Linked DNA regions of Homo sapiens: region 2 is linked to region 1. The links are contacts of gene promoters, found by promoter capture Hi-C in human tissues and cell types (Jung and others, 2019). All regions are on one chromosome and are shown on one strand. Each heading gives the region's core, a stretch centred on a gene start or on the middle of the fragment in contact. The rest is flanking DNA. Distances are from core to core; before and after follow the strand shown.

The links. The method cuts DNA at HindIII sites, captures the fragments that hold promoters and counts their contacts. A contact is called where the count stands out against the background at its distance.
Region 2: a fragment that was not itself captured here is called in contact with the fragment with the promoter of MYBPC3 in region 1 in 4 of the 25 tissues and cell types used here (heart left ventricle, hippocampus, liver and 1 more).

The regions. Positions count from the first base shown.
Region 1 is chr11:47,350,663-47,355,889 of GRCh38, forward strand. It overlaps MYBPC3 (myosin binding protein C3), which reads right to left and starts at 2,040. Exons shown (of 35, transcript NM_000256.3): 1 at 1,961-2,040; 2 at 577-843. The coding sequence starts at 1,985. It overlaps SPI1 (Spi-1 proto-oncogene), which reads right to left. Exons shown (of 5, transcript NM_003120.3): 5 at 4,198-4,884. The coding sequence ends at 4,565. RefSeq lists enhancers at 1-683, 684-1,664. The HindIII fragment of the contact is 22,693 bases long and covers 1-5,227 here.
Region 2 is chr11:47,455,369-47,460,595 of GRCh38, forward strand. No RefSeq gene overlaps it. Among named protein-coding and RNA genes, the nearest start is that of RAPSN, 8.8 kb to the left of the region's middle. RefSeq lists an enhancer at 45-544. The HindIII fragment of the contact is 7,589 bases long and covers 1-5,227 here.

The DNA of each region.
Region 1 (5,227 bases), core at 790-3,289:
CCCTCCACCCTCTCTCTCCTGAGCATTGGACCCATGAGCCCGCTGTGGATGAGGAAAGTCTGCCATGGCTGTCCTCCCGCTGCCTGGGCCCCTCAGAGGCAGCTCATGCTGAGCTGGAGAGCCAGCCTGCCTCTCACATTCTCCTCCCCGTCCCAGGCCATCAGTTCCCATGTCCTCTGCATCTGCCCTGAACAGCTCCAGGTCCATCCCTGCTCTGCCCCAGCCTTAGAGCAGCCCCTCAGACTGGGCTGCACTCCCCTCATCCACAGCTCCTGGGGCTTCCCGGCCGTCTGTGCAGGGTCATCTCCCCAGGGAGGTCTGCAGGGGGAGAGTGGGGTTGTGTCTTGTTCATCTCTCCCACCTACCCCATGGCTGGAACAAGCCAGGATGGCACATGGGGGTACTCAGAGAGGTCATGTGCAGAAAAGGGGGAAAGGGCGTTCCTGGCGGGGGGCACAGCCACAGCAAAGGCAAGAAAGTGTGAAAGCACCTCCTGTTCCCTGGATGGATGGAGAGTCGCTGGGCTGCCCCTCCCCCAGCAGCCCAAACCTCAGGGAAGGCTGATCAGGATCTTACCTGCCTCTATGACCTTGAGGTCGAACTTGACCTTGGAGGAGCCAGCAATGACTGCGTAAGATCCCTGGTCGGCAGGGCCCACTTCCCGCACTGTCAGCGTATGCCGTGTGCCCTCTGTGGCCAGGCCGTACTTGTTGCTGGCGCTGATGTCACTGCCTCCGCGCTGCCAGCGCACCTTCACTCCTGCCCGCTCTGTCTCGGCCTCGAACACGGCAGGGCTGCCTGCGGCCACTTCCACTGACCGTGGCTTCTTGCTAAAAGCTGAGACTGAAGGGCCAGGTGGAGGCTACAGCGGCCCCTGGTTGGAGCGTGCACCCCGCCCCTGCAGCCCCTCTCAGTAAATACTGTGCTAGCACTTTCTATGCATCCCCTCACGTAATACTCTACCAGTTCTCTGAGGTAGTTGCAGTTATTCTGTTCATTTCTCAGAGGAGGACACTGAGGCTCAGAGAAGCTAAGCGGCTCCTCCAAGATCACACAGCTAGCAGTCGGGAGAGCCAGGGCTGTGGTCCTGACCTCCCAACAAGACTTTTTCTGCATGTGTCCACTTTCCCTGCTTGGAGACACCCGTGATGAACCCAGCTCCCTTTCCCCCAACCATTTCGGGCCCTTGGCAGGGGGCGGGGAAGTCTGCCTACTTGGAATGTGGCCAAATTTGTCCTCCAAGGACCTCAGGCTGGGTATCAGCAACTGAGATAAAGCTGGCCTGGGAGGGCGCTGGGGGATGGGGACCTGGATCTCTGCCCTGGACAACCTTCATAAGGGCACAGCCCAGGCCCAGGTCCCTGGGCTGTGATTTTCCCTGCCCTTGGCCTGGGTTCAGGGGCTCCTGACTGTCCTCTCTCAGAGAAGAGGGGCTGTGTCACCCTCAACATGGGGGCCACACCGTACAGGCTCATGAAGCAGATAATGTCACAGCCAGGAGGAACCAACCCAATGCCACCACCACCCCCGGCACCCCAGGTTGGGAGACTGAGACCCATAGTGGGTAGAGACTGGTCTGAAGGCATGCCGTGAGCCTGGCTCAGCTCCATACTAAACGTGGGCTCTGTCCGCGGGGAACCTTGCTGTGGAAGGTGAAGGCAATGGGACAGGGAAGGGGTCCCTTTGCATTCTCAGAATGGGTTGACCCCGGGTGCTTCCTGTCTTGGCTGTGTCCCCTCTCTGCGTCCCTGACCTTGGGTTTACCTTCACCTCTCATCAGAGGGATGGGAAAAAGAAACCGAGAATCAAAAAAGGACCCTGGAGGACTGGCTGCCCCTGTCCTGGGGCTCAGAGGCCACGTCCTCGTCAACCCCCTCAAGAACTCCCTCCTAGCCCTGCTCCCCAATTGTAGACACCCCCCTGCTCCCACACTTAGACCCAACCCCAGTCCTAAAGCTACCTGGCTTCTTCCCCGGCTCAGGCATCCTGAGAGACGTCACACCAGGCACGAAGCAGGCACAGGTCACCCAAAGAGGGACTGAGTGGGGTCCTGTCCTTCCCACTATATATGGGGACCTCCCCCCTCCCCAGGCTCTGCTTATCTGCCTCCTGTCCAGCCACCTGCTAAATATAGATGAATTCCAGAGAGCTGAGGTCTCTCCAGGGAGAAGGTAGGGCCACATTGTCCCTGGCTGGCTCCTGTCCCTTCCCCCCTCACCCCCCGCAGCACAATTCTGCCTCCCCAACCTTTGGCAAGCCTCAGGGGTACTCCAAGCCCCGTGTGTGTCCCTCTTACAGCAAATTGTACGGTGGGAGCATGCTGGGCCCATAACCCTAAGGCTAACGGGTCAGGAGCATCCTCGCAGGCAGTTCAGGCAGTGGTCATGTCCACAGACCCTGGGGCCAGGGTGTCTCTGAGTCCTAGCACTGCCATCTCTTTAATCTCAAAGCACCTGGTTTCCTCATCTGTAAAGCGGGGTGGGTGAAAGCAGCACCCACTGCACAGGATTGTCACACGTATGAAGTGGGTTTATAATTTTAAAAATGTTAGGCCGGGTGTGGTGGCTCATCTGTAATCCCAGCACTTTGGGAGGCCGAGGCAGGCAGATTATTTGAGGCCAGGAGTTTGAGACCAGCCTGGGCAACATGGCAAAACCCCATCTCTACTAAAAAAATAAAAAATAAAATAAATACACACACACACACAAATTAGCCAGGTGTGGTGGTGTGGACCTGTAGTATCAGCTACCCAGGAGGCTGAGGTGGGAGGATCGCTTGAGTCCAAGGAGTTCCGGGCTGCAGTGAGCCAAAATCGCACCACTGCACTGCAGCCTGGGTGACAGAGTGATAATAATAATAAAAATATTATTTATTATTATTTTTTATTATTAATATCTCAAAGAATAATAATAAAAAAATAAAAATGGGCTGGGCGAAGTGGCTCACACCTGTAATCCCAGCACTTTGGGAGGCTGAGGCGGGCAGATCACTTGAGCTCAGGAGTTCGAGACCAGCCTGGGCAACATGATGAAACCCCATCTGTACAAAAAATACAAAAATCAGTCAGGCATGTGACGCACACCTGTAGTCCCAGATGCTCGGGAGGCTGAGGCAGGAGAATCACTTGAGCCCGGGGGGTCAGGGCTGCAGTGAGCCATGTTCGTGCCACTGCACTCCAGCCTGGGCAACAAAGTAAGACCCTGTCTCAAAAAAAAAAAAATAAAAATAGAAGAATGAAGACACAACACCATTTTGCCTTCTCTTGTGGCCCTGCAGTAGGACTAGGGAGCTGCAGGGTTGGGCTGCAGTGAGCCCTCTGGGGTTGAGGAGGTGTGGGGCGGGTATTTGTCCCTACGATAATGGCCCCAGAATCTGGGTTCCCTAAGGTCTTTGACAGCGTTGGGAAGTCCCTCACTCCCAGGCTGTCTACTGCCACTACTTGCTACCGTCTGGAGGAAAACACAGGACTTACAGGCTTCTCCGCTCAGCTTGGTCTGTTTCTCCCCTGCTGTGGCTAGGAGCTAGAAAGCAAATAGAACCTGGGGGTCCCACCAGGGATTCACTTGGGTCTAAAGTCCTGCTGGGCGTGCAGCTCGTGAGAACCCTTTGCGGCCCACAGGAGCTTTGGGGCTTAATTCCTGTCCTCGGAATGCTGAAGAGTATCCTCTTCCAGATAAGCAAGGCCTCCCACTCCATGTTGACGTGTCGGGACAGACCTGGAGTGTGATCCAACTTGGCCACTCAACGGCTGTGACCTTGGGGAAATAATTTGACCTCTACAAGCCTCAGTTTCCCATTCTATAAAATGGAGTGATATTAGACTCCACATCTCAAGGTTGGCAGATACTAATTGACCAGAATATCAAATGTTGTTGCTGGTCATGGTCATCATCATCATCATCATCATCATCATGAGTTCAAACCTCATCAAGGCTTAAAAACAACAACTATCAGGAGTAGAGAGCTTTTAAATAGGATCTGCTCTCCTAATCACAATTGAGGACTTGTTCTTTCCACCAAACTCTAACTCCTGTTCAGGCGCTCTGTGTCATTGGTCCTCATGTTCCCAGGGTCCAGCATTGGGTACAGTCCTCGGTAAACACCCGATGGACAAATGACAAAAAGAGACGTCGCAGCACACAGGGGCCAAAAGAGATACACAACAAATTTTAAAAGAGACTCTGTGCTGCAAGAGGATGGATTGAGAATAACTTTACTTGTTTTTTGGGAGGAGGTTAATGGGTGGGAGGGGTGAGAGGGGAGATCTGATTTACATACGGACTTGAGACTCCCAAGGCAGTACCCCGGGTCGTCCTCTGCAAGGTTGCCCCGGTGGGGTCTGACGCCCAGCTGGCGTCCGGGAGCCGGGGTGGAGTCCTGGAGGGAGGCGAAGCGGGATGTGGAGGGGGCCTGGAGTGGGGGGAGGGGGCGGGTGAGGCGAGGCCCGGCCCGCCACAGTCCTGCCTCTGGGCCCCGGGAGCGTCCTCCCTGTGTCCGGGCCGGGCGAGGGCTTAATGCTATGGCCAGCGGGGAGGCCTGGCGGGGCCCGGCGGGGGCTGCGGGCTCAGTGGGGCGGGTGGCGCCGCTCGGCCAGGCCCCCGCGGCCCAGCACTTCGCCGCTGAACTGGTAGGTGAGCTTCTTCTTCACCTTCTTGACCTCGCCCGTCTTGCCGTAGTTGCGCAGCGCGCGCGCCATCTTCTGGTAGGTCATCTTCTTGCGGTTGCCCTTCTGGATGCCCCAGCGGTGCGCCAGCGCCTCCTTGTGCTTGGACGAGAACTGGAAGGTGCCCTTGTCCTTGTCCACCCACCAGATGCTGTCCTTCATGTCGCCGCTGCGGAGCAGGTCCAACAGGAACTGGTACAGGCGGATCTTCTTCTTGCTGCCTGCGGGGGGGAGGGCCCGGTGGGAGGGGGCCCGGGGCCCACATGGGAGCCGCCCCCACCGCCTTGCGTACGCACAGGGGCCCGGGGACGGGGTGGCCGGGAAGGGCAGGGGAACGGCTGCCCCAGCCCGCGCCGGGCGTGCATACACAACGCACCCACACTCACACACACACACATGCTTGCGCACACACAGGCGTTCACACACACCCACTCACACCCACGCACTCACCCCCCCCACGCGCACACACTCGCACCCACACAGTGCACCAAGTACACACACATGCTCACATCCACATAACGCACCCACACCTCCTTACACATGCTCACACATCACGCCCACACC
Region 2 (5,227 bases), core at 794-3,293, 100 kb after region 1:
TCAAGAGTTCGAGACCAGCCTGGCCAATATGATGAAACTTTGTCTCCATGGAAAATACAAAAAATTAGCCAGGCATGGTGGCATGCACCTGTAGTCCCAGCTACTCAGGAGGCAGAGGCACGAGAATTGCTTGAACCTGGGAGGTGGAGGTGGCAGTGAGCCGAGATTGTGCCATTGCACTCCAGCCTGGGTGACAAGAGGAAAACTCTGTCTCAAAAAAAAAAAAAAAAAAAAAAAAAGTGGAAACTCACGCATGCTCAGACCTTGACTGCCTACCAACCACTCCAGTGGTCGGGGTCTGGCCCCAAGAGACCATGAATGTCTTACCAATTCATTCATTGGAACCATGCACCCCTGACTCCCTGTTCTCGCCTTGACACTGAAGCCAAATGCCACTTGTCTTATGCTGGCCTCCTTTCACATGAGTACATCACAGTTGCAGCCCCTGCTCCAGATGCATGACGAAATGTAACTGAAGGGGACAGTCCCAAGGTCCCTCTACCACGACTATCGGGATTCTTGGGAAGTCTCCCCATCTTACCAAGTTAGTTTCCCCAATTAAAAAGATATTGGCCGGGCGTGGTGGCTCACGCCTGTAATCCCAGCACTTTAAGAGGCTGAGGCAGGCGGATCACAAGGTCAAGAGATTGAGACCATCCTGCCCAACATGGTGACACCCTGTCTCTACTAAAAATACAAAAATTAGCTGGCGTGGTGGTGCGTGCCTGTAGTCCCAGCTACGTGGGAGGCTGAAGGAGGAGAATCGCTTGAACCCGGGAGGCGGAGGTTGCAGTGAGTAGAGATTGCACCACTACGCTCCAGCCTGGCGATAGAGCGAGACTCTGTTCCAAAAAAAAAAAAAAAAGATATCACCTCTCTGGCAAGTTTTCTGTGAAAATCAAATGAGATGATAAGATAACTTGCTTTGAAAAGAAGCCATTGAACTAACATCCCTCTATTGGCTTATTATTTACGGTAGTGAAAAACTAGAAAGAATCTGTGTCTGATAGAAGGGTGTTCATAACCATGAAGTGCTATGTAGACTCTAAATAAGGAAGCAGTAGATACCTGTGTACCCAGATGGAAGGGAGCCCAGGGCATAGTAACTTAAAAAAGCAAGCTGCAGACTGGGCGTGGTGGCTCACGGCTGTAATCCCAGCATTTTGGGAGGCCGAGGCAGGTGGATCACCTGAGGTCAGGAGTTCAAGACCAACCCGACCAACATGGTGAAACCTGGTCTCTAATAAATACAAAAAATTAGCTGGGCATGGTGGCGGGCACCTGTTAATTCCAGCTACTCAGGAGGCTGAGGCAGGAGAATCGCTTGAACCCGGGAGGCAGAGGTTGCGGTGAGCCGAGATCGTGCCACTGCACTCCAGCCTGGCTAACAAGAGTGAGACTCCTTCTAAAAAAAAAAAAAAAAAAAAAACAAGCTGCAAAACATTCTGTATATTACGGTGTGATTTTTATTTTATTATTATTATTATTCTTGAGACGGAGTCTCACTCTGTCACCCAGGCTGAAGTGCAGTGGCGCGATCTCAGCTCACTGCAAGCTTCGCCTCCCGGGTTCAAGCTAGTCTCCCGCCTCAGGCTCCTGAGTAGCTGGGACTACAGGTGCCTGCCAACACACCCGGCTAATATTTTGTATTTTTAGTAGAGACAGGGTTTCACTGTGTTAGCCAGGATGGTCTGGATCTCCTGACCTCGTGATCTACCCGCCTTGGCCTCCTAAAGTACTGGGATTATAGGCATGAACTACCGCACCTGGCCTTTTTTTTCTGAGATGGTTTCGCTCTTGTTGCCCAGGCTGGAGTGCAATGGCGCGATCTCGGCTCATTGCAACCTCCGCCTCCTGGGTTCAAGTGATTCTTCTGCCTCGGCCTCCGAGTAGCTGGGATTACAGGCATGCACCATCATGCCTGGCTAGTTTTGTATTTTTAGTAGAGACGGGGTTTCACTGTGTTAGCCAGGATGGTCTCGATCTCCTGACCTCGTGATCTGCCCGCCTTGGCCTCCCAAAGTGCTGGGATTACAGGCGTGAGCCACTGCACCCAGCCATTTTTTTTTTTTTTTTTTGAAACAGGGTCTCGCTCTGTTACCCAGGCTGGAGTACAGTGGTGCGATCATGGCTCACTGCAGCCTCAACCTCTTGGGCTCAAGCAATCCTCCCGCTTCAGCCTCCCAAGTGGCTTGGACTACAGGTGTGTGCCATCACACCTGGCTAATTTTTTAAATTTTTTGTAGAGACAGGTCTGTGTTGCCCAGGCTGGTCTCAAACTCCTGGGCTCAAGTAATCCTCCTGCTTCAGCCTCCCAAAGTGCTGGGATTATAGGCATAATCCGAGCTACCATACTCAGCATGATCTCAACATGATCTCATTTTTATTAACAAAAATTACTTATTTTTTGTGTTTATAAGGAAAAATCCGGCCAGGTGCGGTGGCTCACGCCTGTAATCCCTGCACTTTGGGAGGCCGAGGCTGGCGGATCACGAGGTCAGGAGATCCAGACCATCCTGGCTAACATGGTGAAACCCCGTCTCCACTAAAAATGCAAAAAATTAGCTGGGCGTGGTGGCGGGTGCCTGTAGTCCCAGCTACTCGGGAGGCTGAGGCAGGAGAATGGCATGCACCCAAGAGGTGGAGCTTGCAGTGAGCCGAGTTTGCGCCACTGCACTCCAGCCTGGGTGACAGAGCGAGACTGCGAGACTCCGTCTCAAAAAAAAAAAAAAAAAAAAAAGAAAGAAAAAAGCAAAATCCTGGAAGCATATGACCCCATCTGTTATCAATGGGCTGTGGGATGGGGCATTCGCTCACTTTTAACCATGACTTACTGTTGTTACTAGCGACTTTAATGAGTGCTTGCCAGGGGCAGTAGCTTGGCTATTTGTTTGTGCATTTATTCTTTTTTGAGACGGAGTCTTGCTCTGTCGCCCAGGCTGGAGTGCAGTGACGGCATCTCGGTTCACTGCAAGCTCCGCCTCCCAGGTTCACGCCATTCTCCTGCCTCAGCCTCCTGAGAACCTGGGACTACAGGCACCCGCCACCACTCCCGGCTAATTTTTTTTTTTGTATTTTTAGTAGAGACGGGGTTTCACCTTGTTAGCCAGGATGGTCTTGATCTCCTGACCTCGTGATCCGCCCGCCTCGGCCCCCCAAAGTGCTGGGATTAAAGGCGTGAGCCACCGCGCCCGGCTGTGCATTTATTCTTTTTGTAGAGATGGAGTCTCGCTATGTTGCCCAGGCTGGTTTTGAACTCCTGGGCTCAAGCAATCCCCCTGCCTTCGCCTCCCCATGTGCTGGGATTACAGGCATGAGCCACCACACCCGGCCCCTTTGGCTAGTTTTTGAGACAATCTCTCATCTTCCCAACTGTACGGGGCAGGTGCTTTTGTTTCCATTTAACAGATGAACAATCTGGGGCTGAGAATCAAGTAATTTGTCCAAGGTCACAGGGGTGCTGATGGTAGACTTGGTATTACCGGATTAGGGAATCCTTAAAACAAAGATTTCCCCAACATACTCTAAGCCTTTTGAAGAACCACCTAAATGTTTTGCATTTAATAAAAAAAAATTAAGGCCAGGCGTGGTGGCTCACGAGGTCAGGAGTTCGAGACCAGTCTGACCAACATGGTGAAACCCCATCTCTACTAAAAATACAAAAATTTGCCAGGCGTGGTGGCACGCGCCTGTAATCCCAGCTACTCAGGAGGCTGAGGCAGGAGAATTGGTTGAACCTGGGAGGCGGAGGTTGCAGTGAGCTGATACCATACTGCTGTACTCCAGCCTGGGCAACAAGAGTGACACTCCATCTCAAAAAAAAAAAAAAAATTCAAACCCTCACCTGATTTTGTAAACAAGTCATTGCTGTCAGGTGTTTCGGGCTCCAGGCACATCCCATTCTAGGGAAGGGCAGGTTAGTGGCACTCTCAGGGCTGAATGGCCACAGGTAGGCTCCCCTCACCTGGGTCCTTCCCTGACCGCCAAGGGGGAACCTCTAACAGCACAGGGCCCTGCTACTGAAACAGGTGCTGGCACCAACTTCAAGTGGCAGGGCCCCTGGTGAGCGGACTCAGAAGTTGTATTAGAATTCCTGTAAAGTCGCTCTGAGGGACTTGGCGGTCATTTGTGTTGGATGGTGACAGAAATGTCTACTGAATACTTACCCGCCAGTGTGTGTGGAATGGTGAGGCCTCCAGTGAGAAATGAAGTATGGCTCCTGTCTTCATGAAGCTCTGTCCCAGAGGTGGAATTTAAACCAGGGCACCCCAGGGTCCACCTTAGTGACCCCTCAAAGGAATATGTTCTACAGGACTACGGGGTCAGGTTGGCCTGCATGAAAACACAACTGTCCTACTTATTAGCCACATGAACAGAAGAACTGCAGCTTCTCTGTGCCTCAGTCTATCTTCCTATGCTACCAGTTGCTGGGAGGACGAATGCAGTGGCTGTGGCTGATTAATAAATGGTGGCTTTGTTTTCTTAAAAGCAGAATAGGTCGGGCGTGGTAGCTCACGCCTGTAATCCCAGCACTTTGGGAGGCTGAGGTGGGCGGATCACCTGAGGTCAGGAGTTCGAGACCAGCCTGGCCAACATGGTAAAACCCCGTCTCTACTAAAAATAGAAAAATTAGTCAGGTGTGATGCCAGGTGCCTGTAGTCCCAGCTACTCGGGAGGCTGAGGCGGGAGAACTGCTTGAACCCAGAGGGCAGAGGCTGCAGTGAGCCGAGATCCTGCCACTGCACTCCAGCCTGGGCAACAGTGAGACTCCATCTCAAAAACAAACAAGCAAACAAACAAAAACAGCAAACTGTCTAGAACAGTCCTGCCACTGCCTGTGATGATGGAAATGTTTTGTATCGGCACTGTCCAATAGGATAGCCACCAGTCACTTGAAATGTGGCTAGTGAAACCGAGGTACTACATTTTTGTTATTTTAAGAGGGAGTTTCGCTCTTGTTGCCCAGGCTGGAGTGCAATGGCATGATCTCAGCTTACCACAACCTTCACTTCCCGGGTTCAAGCAATTCTCCTGCCTCAGCCTCCCGAGTGGCTGAGATTACAGGCATGCACCACCACGCGGGGCTAATTTTGTATCTTTAGTAGAGACGGGGTTTCTCCATGTCGGTCAGGCTGGTCTCAAACTCCCAACCTCAAGTGATCCGCCTGCCTCGTCCTCCCAAAGCGCTGGGATTACAGGCATGGAGAGGTAAGGTGAGCCACTGGCT